2 separate regions of the Homo sapiens genome follow, and region 1 is linked to region 2. The links are contacts of gene promoters, found by promoter capture Hi-C in blood cells and fetal thymus (Javierre and others, 2016). All regions are on one chromosome and are shown on one strand. Each heading gives the region's core, a stretch centred on a gene start or on the middle of the fragment in contact. The rest is flanking DNA. Distances are from core to core; before and after follow the strand shown. Region 1 has its middle 47 kb from the start of CCNG2. Region 2 holds the start of FAM47E (family with sequence similarity 47 member E).

The links. Contacts are between HindIII fragments. The CHiCAGO score rates a contact against its expected background, and 5 or more counts as called.
Region 1: a fragment that was not itself captured here is called in contact with the fragment with the promoter of FAM47E in region 2 in 1 of 17 cell types (total CD4 T cells); the score reaches 5.6 in total CD4 T cells.

The regions. Positions count from the first base shown.
Region 1 is chr4:77,201,251-77,206,452 of GRCh38, reverse strand. No RefSeq gene overlaps it. Among named protein-coding and RNA genes, the nearest start is that of CCNG2, 47 kb to the right of the region's middle. The HindIII fragment of the contact is 228 bases long and covers 2,683-2,910 here.
Region 2 is chr4:76,250,446-76,256,135 of GRCh38, reverse strand. FAM47E (family with sequence similarity 47 member E) reads right to left here and starts at 4,415. Exons shown (of 8, transcript NM_001136570.3): 1 at 4,316-4,415. The coding sequence starts at 4,389. It overlaps FAM47E-STBD1 (FAM47E-STBD1 readthrough), which reads right to left and starts at 4,415. Exons shown (of 7, transcript NM_001242939.2): 1 at 4,316-4,415. The coding sequence starts at 4,389. It overlaps LOC105377286 (a long non-coding RNA gene), which reads left to right and starts at 4,459. Exons shown (of 3, transcript XR_938897.4): 1 at 4,459-5,028. The HindIII fragment of the contact is 1,725 bases long and covers 3,427-5,151 here.

The DNA.
Region 1 (5,202 bases), core at 1,547-4,046, 950 kb before region 2:
CTGAGTCTCTTGCACTTAACTACAAAGGATCCAAACTGACACCATAGAAGTTGTTCTTCCTACCCCTGCTAGTATTGATTGCCTTTAAATGCATTCCCCAGGCCTACATTCAGCACTCCCCTAACCACAGGCCGAGATGCAGAATCTAATCCAAGGCAGACTCATCCATATACCTTGGAAACCCCCCCCAAAATTATGCTCAGGGTCAGAATTGACAAAGTTGGCCAAAATTCCCTAGATCCTACTGGTAAAGGGTTGCCTTCTATTTAAGATTGGAGCTGAGCAAGAATCCAGCCACAGCCCCATAGTCAAATTCACAAAGCTTCCTGAAATTTACCTGTGTTTAAGAGCTCCTCTAACCCTGTGCTGGGAAGTTCCTCTCACCCCTCAAAATGTTTGCTACTTCTTCCGGGAAAGCAGTGAGAGACTTCCAACTATCTGTTATCTTGCCACTCTAATTTCTCCTCCCCAGACTTCACCACAGAGGTATTGCTAGAAGCAGTTCATTTCTTCCCTTAGTGTAACCCACCCAATCTGACATTCCCACCAAACGAAATGAAGACCTTAGAGAAAGTCTTTCCTTCAAGCAATCCCTAGTTTGGACTCAGTACATCTAGACAAATGACTTCAGTATTGTATGGGAAAGCTGTGAACACCATCTGCAATTCTCACTGTGAAACCTGAAGATGCTTAATGTCCCAGGACCTTCTCATTAGACCAAAATTATAGACACTCATCTGTCTCAGGAAGTCAGGACCATTGTGTGCCAAACTAGCATGTGTGGGAGGAGAGGCTTACCTAGAGATTCTATCAAACAGCTTCTGAGACCCCACTGCCCAAGACACTCACTTCCATACGGAGCAGGACCTGGCCGAGTTCCACGTTTGTCTTGCCCTGATAGTGGTACTCCTCTCCGTGGCGGGGTAGGGGAGGAGGGGGCGGCTGGGGGCGGGGGGAGTCTGATCCTGTTGCTCCTAATGCCACACTTTCAGGGAACCTAGAAAGCCTTTGAAGACCCTCAGACTGGCCTGTACCTTTTACATGCCAGTGTGGAGCCCTGGATATGAGGCCATCAGCAATATGCAGGTAGTGTGCCACAGCAAGACTGCCATAGAAATTCAGGGCTTAAGTGTCTGAGGTACCATTCACCTCACTTTCCCCATGGGGTTCTGAAAGTAATTGGGAACTACACCTGAAATCAAGATCAGACAAGCTTTGTTTCACTGAATCAGAGGACCAAAGCTGGAAGTGGGCCCCCGAACTAGGCTGAGCAAGTCTTCTACCATTGAGTAACGTAAGCCCACTCAGTGAGCAATCCTTCCATATACATTCATGAAGTAAAACAAGTACCATAAAACTCATGAGGGCAGTTCTCTCTAGAAGGGTTAACTACATATGTGCCATGAGTTGTTCCTAGTCTCATTAACCCATCCAGGTTCTTTTCCCTTGGGTAATATTGAAGAGATAGAGAAAAGCAGAGACTAGATAACTTAAGTGTTTCAAAAATAGAAGTTACATAACTTCACATGGTATAAATCAGTAGTTGATATTGCACATCTACAAGACATACCTTTTGAATTAGAACATTGGATTTTGCTTTCCATCAAAAGATTTATGTATAGGAAAAATTCACATCTGGAATCCATTTGCTTTTCAGGAAGATAACTGTAGCCTTCTAAGATAAGCCATTGTAACTAGATGGTGATGAAGGATTAGAGATGAGTTTAAAATAAAGCATTACTTCATTTTAAAAGTTAAATATACCCCAATTCTGCTACAATAGCTTTAAATTCTTCTGTTCTGGTCAACATACTTCTGAGGGATGTGAGATTGGCCTCTGCTGTGAAAGCTATTAAAACAAAGCCTTTTGGTTGTTTTCCTCTGAGTAGCATTGCTATCACTCCAACCTAGATTCAGTAGGTTAAACAAGCTTATTTGTCACATGAAGAACTCAGTACATTAAGCACTATATGCACAATAGTCATTCTGTACAAGAACATTAACATGTACCTCAGTTACCTCTAGATAACTATCATTGTACATTTGTAGTCGTCACCTGTCACCTGTATGTTCTTCCAACGAACCATGTATTTCTTCCCCTTTGTTTGCTAGGGTGTGGGTTTAACAAAATTTGGCATTTTCTATTTATTGTGTTTTACAAAGTATTGGTCCATGGCAGATCAGAACCAAATGGGTCCTTTAGGTAGTCTCAAAAGCTAGTCGGGGTCATTTTAACTTTAACTGTAGTTGAGACCTATTAACTCACTAGAAGATCAGCCATTTCTAGGCACTAGGCTAAGGTCCTAAGCCTTCCATCCAAGCACAAGAAGGTGTTTAGGGAAACAGGTTTCTCAAAACCAGCTCAAGATTTGCAGCTATGTTTATTCTCATATACCTTGAGCAAATGAGAACAAAGCAATTAGCCTTGTGTGGAAGGAATGGAGGGATTGTGTTGATAATGCCAACCCTAGAAGCCATCTTAGGAGAAGAGGCAAGAGGCCCAAACAATGAAGCAAGGGTGAAGCAAAAGCTGCCAGAGAGGACCTAACGGGGCCTGCCCTCATGTTTGGAGCCTTGGACTGTTTCAGGAATTAGACACACGGGGTCTTGCCACTTTGAAGCATGGGGCACAACCAGTTTTAAACTGCCATCAACAGGGGGCGCTTAGTAACCATAAAAGCTTGACTGAGTTGCAAAGCCATGACTTTGCTAACTCTTGAAAAGTGAGCTGGACGTAAGGATGCTCCCCGTTTGGAGTGAATGCTTTACCACAGCAGCATAGACACCGTTGAAACATTTACTCAGAGTCGAGTAGAGTAAGCTACTTGGTCTCAATTTCATACTGTCTTCAAGAGCACAGGTGAGCCATGGCTATCTGCTATGCTGGTTAGACATGCAGTCATGTAAGCTTTTCTTAGGACCAGTTCAGCATAGTTGTGGAACTTTGTCACATTGGAAGGCCTCATGACCCCAGTTTGAGGGGTTTCTCCCATCGAGACCCATTATCCCAAGGGCTCTCTCCCAGAGTCCCTGCTGCTGCTAGGGACACAGTCACAGGACTTAGCCTCTAGCAATCAGAGACACCAGGACTATTTCAGAAAGGAACAAGGAGTCAGTAGGTGGAACCATTTTAGAGTAGGGCAGCTACTTAATTTGGTGGGTTTAATGTGGAGGAATTGGTGAGCATATGAGACCAGAGCAAATCAATCAACTCCTGCTACACTGAGTTCTGGACATTATCTCATGTTTTACTCACTCGTTTATAACCTGAAAGCAAGGAAAAACTTGTTACAAGAATAAAACAAAAGCTACATGTTTAGAAGGGCCCAAGTTTACCAAGATTGCCCAACAACCCTGTTTTTCTAGCTTCTCTCCCCTCTGCGAAATTTGGGAGTTGGAAAGATACATCAGAAGTCAGTGATAAGTTTAGAGACATGGTTCTACCATAGTCTAACTCAGCCAAGCCTTATCTTTCTAGTATTAGGACTAAGACATTTGGGATTCACGAAGGGTTGAGATTTACCAGAAAAAAAGCCATGGGGTTAAATAAATGAAAGATACTATAACAAGGAAATAAAGTCAATAAAGGCAACAGCTGGAATGAGAAAGTCTGTGGGTTGGAGATTTGTGTCAAGAGAAGTAGTCTTAACAGGCCTGAAGTGGAATGACTTGAACAAGAGACTTGAACAAGCTGGAGAGGAAGACGGGGTGAGTGAGACAAAACTGGGTTGTTTAGGACAAAGTACAAGGTGTTAACCACCTATTCATGAGGAATTCCAGTAGGAAGCAGTTGACAGGAAGGTGAGTCAGGGGATGGGGAAGGTGTTTTCACAACCATACTAACACCTCTTCTTGCAGAACTAGTTATCTGGCTGTGGACCCAAACCTGGGGTTCAGGTCCCAATACACTTTGTATAAGGAAGACCTTGTGCAGGTTTAGCTTCAGATTATCATATAGGTGATAACCACCAAGGACAGAGTAGTTGAGATGTCATATTCCTGGCAGATCCGGCCCATAAATGCTTTCTCAGGTATGTCAGGTTAAATAGAAACTGATTATGGTAACACCTCCAAATAAGATTTCTATCAGTTCTGGTTTGTCAGGTGACATACTAATTGCCTCACTAATCAGACAAGTATTGTTACGCTAGTCTAGATTTTTACTGTTAACAGGAAGGTATATGAATACATTGCTTGTATAAAACAAGCAGTCCTTAACTGGTTTTATTAAGGCACTCCCGAGAGATGTTAGGTGCAGTTAAGCCACAGGCCAAGAGAAAAGGGAGAAAAAAAGAACAGCAAGATATGCTGTAAATTATGACAGATTTACTCCACCCTTTTTATGTCTATTTGGTCATTTAGTCATAGACAATCAAGTACATGACTAAGCTCAGGACATTTAACCCATTACACCCTGCCACACCAAAAGCTTTTCATAGAAGCCCCATGTTACCCACCACGTTGACATTTGAGTCAGTGTACTCAAGAGCCAGGTAAGCACAGGGAAACAATCATTTCCTGTAGCATGAGTGGTCTTAAGACATCTAGCTTCCTGTTGAGCAAGGTAAGAATGACATCCACCCGACTATTTGATTTTAGAGGTTTAGCTTATTGATCCGAGTTATACCTGACCCTTAACCATAAAGCATTAAAGTGAGACGTTTGTTCTCAAGGCAAGCTATAGCAAGTCACTGTAAGAGGAGTAGTATATGGAAAGACTTCAAAACAACCTAAAGTGAACAATTTCCTAGGTTTGAGAGATTGTGAGGGTGACACTGAGCCTCAGTTTTTCTCTATAAAATAAAACCCTGAGGTAGTTACTCCTATAAGTGAACCAATATGAGAGCATTCAGAACAATGGCATGAAGTCAAGTCTGGGTGACTCTTGTACATACTATTCCTTGTCCACATTCATAGGTATTTTGCAAGTTGAGTCATGACTGGTCTGTTCATAGTCACCATGGTCCTATACATTCATGAATCAGTATGTATATGGTCTTAAATGCCTGCGACATTAAGAGGAAATCAGCTCACTACCCAACAACCTTAAAGCAAAGCAGTAAGAATTAAGGATAGGGAAATAGAACCTTAAAAGATGACAAGAGGTGGGTGGGAAGTGGTATAAGATTAGGCAAAAGTAACTAGTATGAACATGAAAATAGAACCAGAATGCTGAGAGAACCCAAAGAGATGGCTATATAT
Region 2 (5,690 bases), core at 3,166-5,665:
GCCTGTTCATATTAACCACAGGACTTGGGTGGGAGAAGGAGGTAGTAAAAAGGCTGGTCTCCAGCTTTTAGGGTTGGGGGTAGGGGAAGTGGGATTCACTGGAGAAGCTGGAGTTAATCATATTCCTAGTTCATAGCACAGAATTGCTGCTCCGTACAAAGCCCCTCTCTTGCTTTCTTGTCTATTTTATCCCCACATCCGACTCTCACTGGTCTCCCTTGCAAAAGCAAAACTGCCCTAGTGGATTTGGAATATATCCTTTGTTTGTACACATCCTTGAAATTCTGAAGCATCCTTATGTGTGCATGCACTCTTAATTTACGTAAATGGCACTATTCTGCTTCTTGTTTACCCAGCACTATATTTTAAAGACCCTTCCATGTCACTCTATGTAAATCTAATTCATTATTCCAACTGCCGCCACCACATTTCATCTCTCCATTCGCTTTGTGAAGGACACTCAAGTTGTTGCCTTTCCCAAGGACTCTCTCTCTTCACTAAAAGGGACAGAGTGCAGTTGAGCGGGAAGAACCTGGATCCCACTGACAACTCAGCCCCTAACTAGCTGAATGGCGTTGGCTCTTCATGTAACCTCTGTGGGTTCCCCCTAAACTCAGGGGATCAAAGGCTGCAAAATGGCTGTCCATGGGCTACATTGGGCCAACAAACCTGTCATTTGGTCCTCCTTGTGTTTTAATAAGAATCATAATAGCTAACATAAATTGAGAATTTTCAACATAACAGACACTGTTCTACTGTTCTAAATGCTTTACACATACGAGCATATTTAAATCTCATAACAACCCTATGAATTAGGCACGAGTATTATTCCCATTTACAGATAAGAAAATTGAGCACAAAGAAGTTAAAAAACAAAACACTTGTCAAAGGTCACACAGCTAATAAATGGTAGAGCTGGGAGTTTAACCCAGGTAGGCAGCTCCAGAAAAAGGTGCTTAATCACTCTACTGGAGTTTATGATAAATAAAAATGTTCACATAAATAATCGGGAAAAATGGCTCCTCTTGAAAAGCCAGATTTTTCAAGATCTGTGAAAAGTGGGTCCACTTATCCAAGGAGCCCCAATTGGCATATTGGTTGCCCACTGGAGACAAATCATCTGCTCTCTCATTCACAACCTCCACCTCTCCCACCGCCATATATATAGCTGCTTCACTCAGCCTCCTTATCCACCAGCGCCCTGTTAGCATTGAGTAGTTAGGGCATATAGATGAGATGGAAGAGACAGATGGGCAAACAGGAAGGAAAATAGAACAAGCTCCTGAATAACCTAACACAACCAGCGAACACCAAAGCCACGACTTGGAATCTGAGCGTCTCATTATCCTCACATATTACAGTGCCTTAGTTAGGTAATTCTAGAGTCTTTGTGTCCTTCCCTGAAGCCTCTTCCACCTTCAGACCCCTTTTATCTATAATGTCTTTTTACACCAAATCTAATCCTTGCTACACCCATTGCTACAAAGTGTTTTTAAGAGATTCCAGCCTGGCCCCAATTCTTCTCTAGTGAGTCCTAGAAACTTCTTACTTGTTGCATAGATGTGTAGGTGTTGTTTTAAGGGCTTAACCCAACTCTACTGTGAAGATCTAGATGAAAGGACACAAAAAGATGAACTTAACAAAAAGTTACTCTCTGCATTTAACAGATCACTCTTAAATAGCTAAATGGCAGAAAGATGCTGAAATTACATCTAATCATAAGATTAATGACCCATTCAGCATTACTTATTAGTAAGTAACCCTCCATATTAAATGTCTTTACAAAGTTCATTATATGCACATTTACAACTAACTCATGCATCCAAGCACTTCATGAAATCAAATCTGAGAACAAATATTTTTGTTTAAGTACAGCCATACAACTCAAAATGGGGAATGTACGTGGCAGTGAGCTGAAACTTCATAGAATGTTAGAACTGGCAGAGATCCTAAAAGAAATCCAGTCTACTTTCTTCACTTTTCTTTTTCTGTTTTTTTTTTTTTTTTCAAGACAGGGTCTCACTCTGTTGCTCAAGCTAGGGTACAGTGGCAATTATAGCTCAATAGCTCACTGCAGCCTCAAACTCCTGGGCTCAAGGGATCCTCCAATCTCAGTCCCCCAAGTAGTTGGGACTACAGGTGTGCGGCACCATGCCTAGCTAAATTTTTAAATTGCTTTTGTAGAGAGAGGAGACAGGGTCTTGCTATGTTGCCCAGGCTGGTCTCAAACTTCGGGTTCAAGTGATCCTCCTGCCTCCGCTTCCCAAAGTGTTGGGATTACAGGCGCGAGCCACTTTCCTCATTTCTTTCCTTTCTTTTTTTTTTTTAATTCGAGACAGGGTTCCACTCTGTTACCCAGGCTGGAGTGCAATGGTGTAATCTTGGCTCACTGCAACCTCTGCCTCTCAGACTCAAGTAATCCCTCCACCTCAGCCTCTTGAGTAGCTGGGACTACAGGCATGTGCCACCATGCCTGGCTACCGCTTTCCTCTTTTTAATAAGGAAACTAAGTTCCAAGAGGAGAGTAAGGCAACCAGTGTAAAGGGAGGGCTTTCCTCTCCCCCACATGGCCTCTCATAGTTAATAAGCTTACCATTCTGCATTATGTTAGGTTCAGGAAAAATCTTGCTTGGCCCATAAAATAAAACTGGAAACAATTTTTCTAAATATTTACTGTTTTCACAGACACTAGTACATGATATATGGATATTTCCCTCTTTAAGAATTGCAAAAGGATACCGGACATGTATCCTAAAGAAATGAAAAAGTATGTTCTCAGAAAATTCTGTACACAAATGTCGATAGCAGCTTTCTACATATTAGCCCCAAAACTGGAATGTCCAAAACAACCTGAATGTCCTTCAACAAGTGAATGGATAAACAAACTGTGGTACATCCACACCAAGGAACACGACTCAGCAACAAAAATGAACTACTGATACACACAACTTGGATGGATCTCAGAGGCTTTATGATGAGTGAAAAAGAGCCAGTCTCAAACAGTTACATACTGTATTATTCTGTTTATCTAACATTCTCAAAAGAACTAACTTACAGAAATGGAGAGCAGCTTAGCGATTGACAAGGCTGGGGTGGGAAAAGAAGTGACAGCAAAGGGGTAATACTAAGAGTTCCTCTGTGGGGAAGGAACAGTTTTGTATCTTTATGTATACATATGACCAAATGTTACAGAACTCACACACCTGAGTGCAAGTAAGAGCTGATAAAATCCAAGTAAGGTCTCTAGTTCAATTAGCATATTCTGCCAATGACGTTTCCTGGTTTGGCAATGTGCTATCGTTATGTAAAATGGTACCACTGTAAGCAGCTAGGGGAAGGGTACATGGGACCTCTGTACTATTTCTGCAACTTCTGGTGAGCCTACAGTTATTTCAAAACAAAATTTTTAAATGGGGGGGAGAAGCTTCCCAAAGAAGCTCTTATGAATAACTGCTAGAAACAACTATGAATAATTGCTAACATGTACACGATACGTTCTATGTGCCAGTGACAACTTTACATGTGCTATCTCCATTAATCCTCACGACAATCTTAGAAAGCTGATTCCTAAGTTATTGCCCCATTTTATAGTTAGGAAAGTGAGCCCAGAAGGAGCAACCAACTTGCCTAAGGTCACCAGGCAAACAAGAGGAGAACTAGCCTTCTACTCAAGCCTTTCTGATTCTAGACTTTGGAATCTTCACCACCACATCGTGCTGTCTCCAAGACAGACGAATTCCATTCTCAAAAGATTGTCAAGGAGTCGGTAAAGGCAAAAACCTTCTTGTTCCTGCTCTGAGGCTACCACAACCGTACAAAATGTTAGCAGACCTCCCTAGCACCCCAGGCGCTCCCCCAACCCTGGGCTCCACTTGGCCACAGCCGCCATCTGGATACCAAAGGCTCCAGGGGCAGCAGATGCCTAACATCGGATACAGGGCTCCAGGCGCCCCGGGGCATCTGGCGAACAGTTGGTTGGCTAGGCCGGAAAAGGGTGGGTGGCTAGCAGGAGGGCACCAGCCTCCGCAGCGGACTCTGCGGCCATCACTTTCCCATCAGAAATGGGGATATTAGTCTACATCCCTGGGGGCGTGGGAGGCGGGGGTTGTGAGGATGACAGCAGGAAAAATCCTTTGCAAAGAGCAGCGCCAAGCGTTGGTTATCTCAGCGTATTATGTTGTACGTACAGGAAGCATTGAGGAGGGAAGGCAGGCTGGACCTCTCCCCTCGCCCCCGCCCCAGCAAGCGCGGGTCTCCAGGCGCCCCCGCGCGGCCCGCGTGGGATGCGCCCTCGGCCCGGGCGCTGAGTGTTTACCTGGACCTGCAGTTCACGCCCTCGCGCACCGGGGCCAACGTCCCCGGCCGGAGCCGCCGCCTGCGGTCCGCCATGGTGGCCCTAGCTTCGCGGCCACCGTCCGGGCTTGGGCGGTGTGTGTGCCCTGCTGCCGCCCCGTTGCTAGGACACCGCACAACCACCGCTGCCGGTATTTGCCCCGGGCGCCTGGCAACTCTGACGCCCCGCTGCGCGGTCCAACCCCTTCTCCGACGCCTGGGGACGTGGACCTGGCCGAGGGAAGGGAGAGGGTACCGGTCCTTGGTGTAATCACGTTTTACTCTGCTGGGAAGGCGTGTTCATCTTCCCACCGAAACGCGCCATAGACTGGATCAGGCGTTTTTTGCTCATCATCGTTTCAAAAAACGTTTACTGAAGGAAAGAAAGGAAGAAGGCAGGAGGAGCGATAAAGAGATAGCAAGAGAAAGAGGATGGAAAGTGGGGAAAATGAATAGATTTCTAAAGGTTGGGAAAGCCTTTTAGCAGGGAGATGTTTTCCTGGAGGTCTTGGAACTCTCTTGGTCTCACAGCCTCTGTAAACCGAGGGCTGCACACCTGTCTCTAGTCCCCAGCTGATTTCCAGAGGCCCTTCCAGCTCCTGTGTTGATTCTTCTGCCTCGACTCACTTCTAGCAGACAAGTACCATCCAGCTGACCCTGGTAGGCACGTGGCCACATAATACGGATTGCACGAGGGTGTGTTTCGTTTTTACTAAATTCTTATGCTACTTCTGAGTGTTTCTGATTTAAATATAAGCATTGGTTCTGCTACTTAATAATTATGCACTCCTGGGGGCAGGGTACTTACATTTTTAAGCTTCATTAATTACCTGGCCTGAAAATGGGGAAAATAATAGTATCTACCTGTAGGGTTATTGGGGATATTCGATGAATATAAAGAAATTAACACAGTGCCAGCATTTAAGAATCCCTCAAGAATTATTATTATGCAAGTACTATTATTCCAGCTGTGAACCGGGGGTGGTAATATTTGTCCTGACTACTTAACAGAGCTGTTGTGAGTTAGTTAATGGAGAAAGCTATGTAGGTAATCATTATAATTAGCCCAATTGTTATTTTTATTTTCTTTGATATTAGTCCGATTGTAATGCAAACTTTTTATTACTTTGAGGAGGTAGGGTTTCTGTAGAAATTCTGTGAGAACTGGGCCAAAAGTATGGTTATCTAGGCTGAATGGAGTCCTGCAGGAATGATTTGTAACAATTTGCCCAAACAATGCTTGATTAAACTAAAAAGCTTCTACACAGCAAAAGAAATAATCAGCAGAGTAAACAGCCCACAGAGTGGGAAAAATCTTTGCAATCTATATATCCAACAAAGGACTAATATTCAGAATC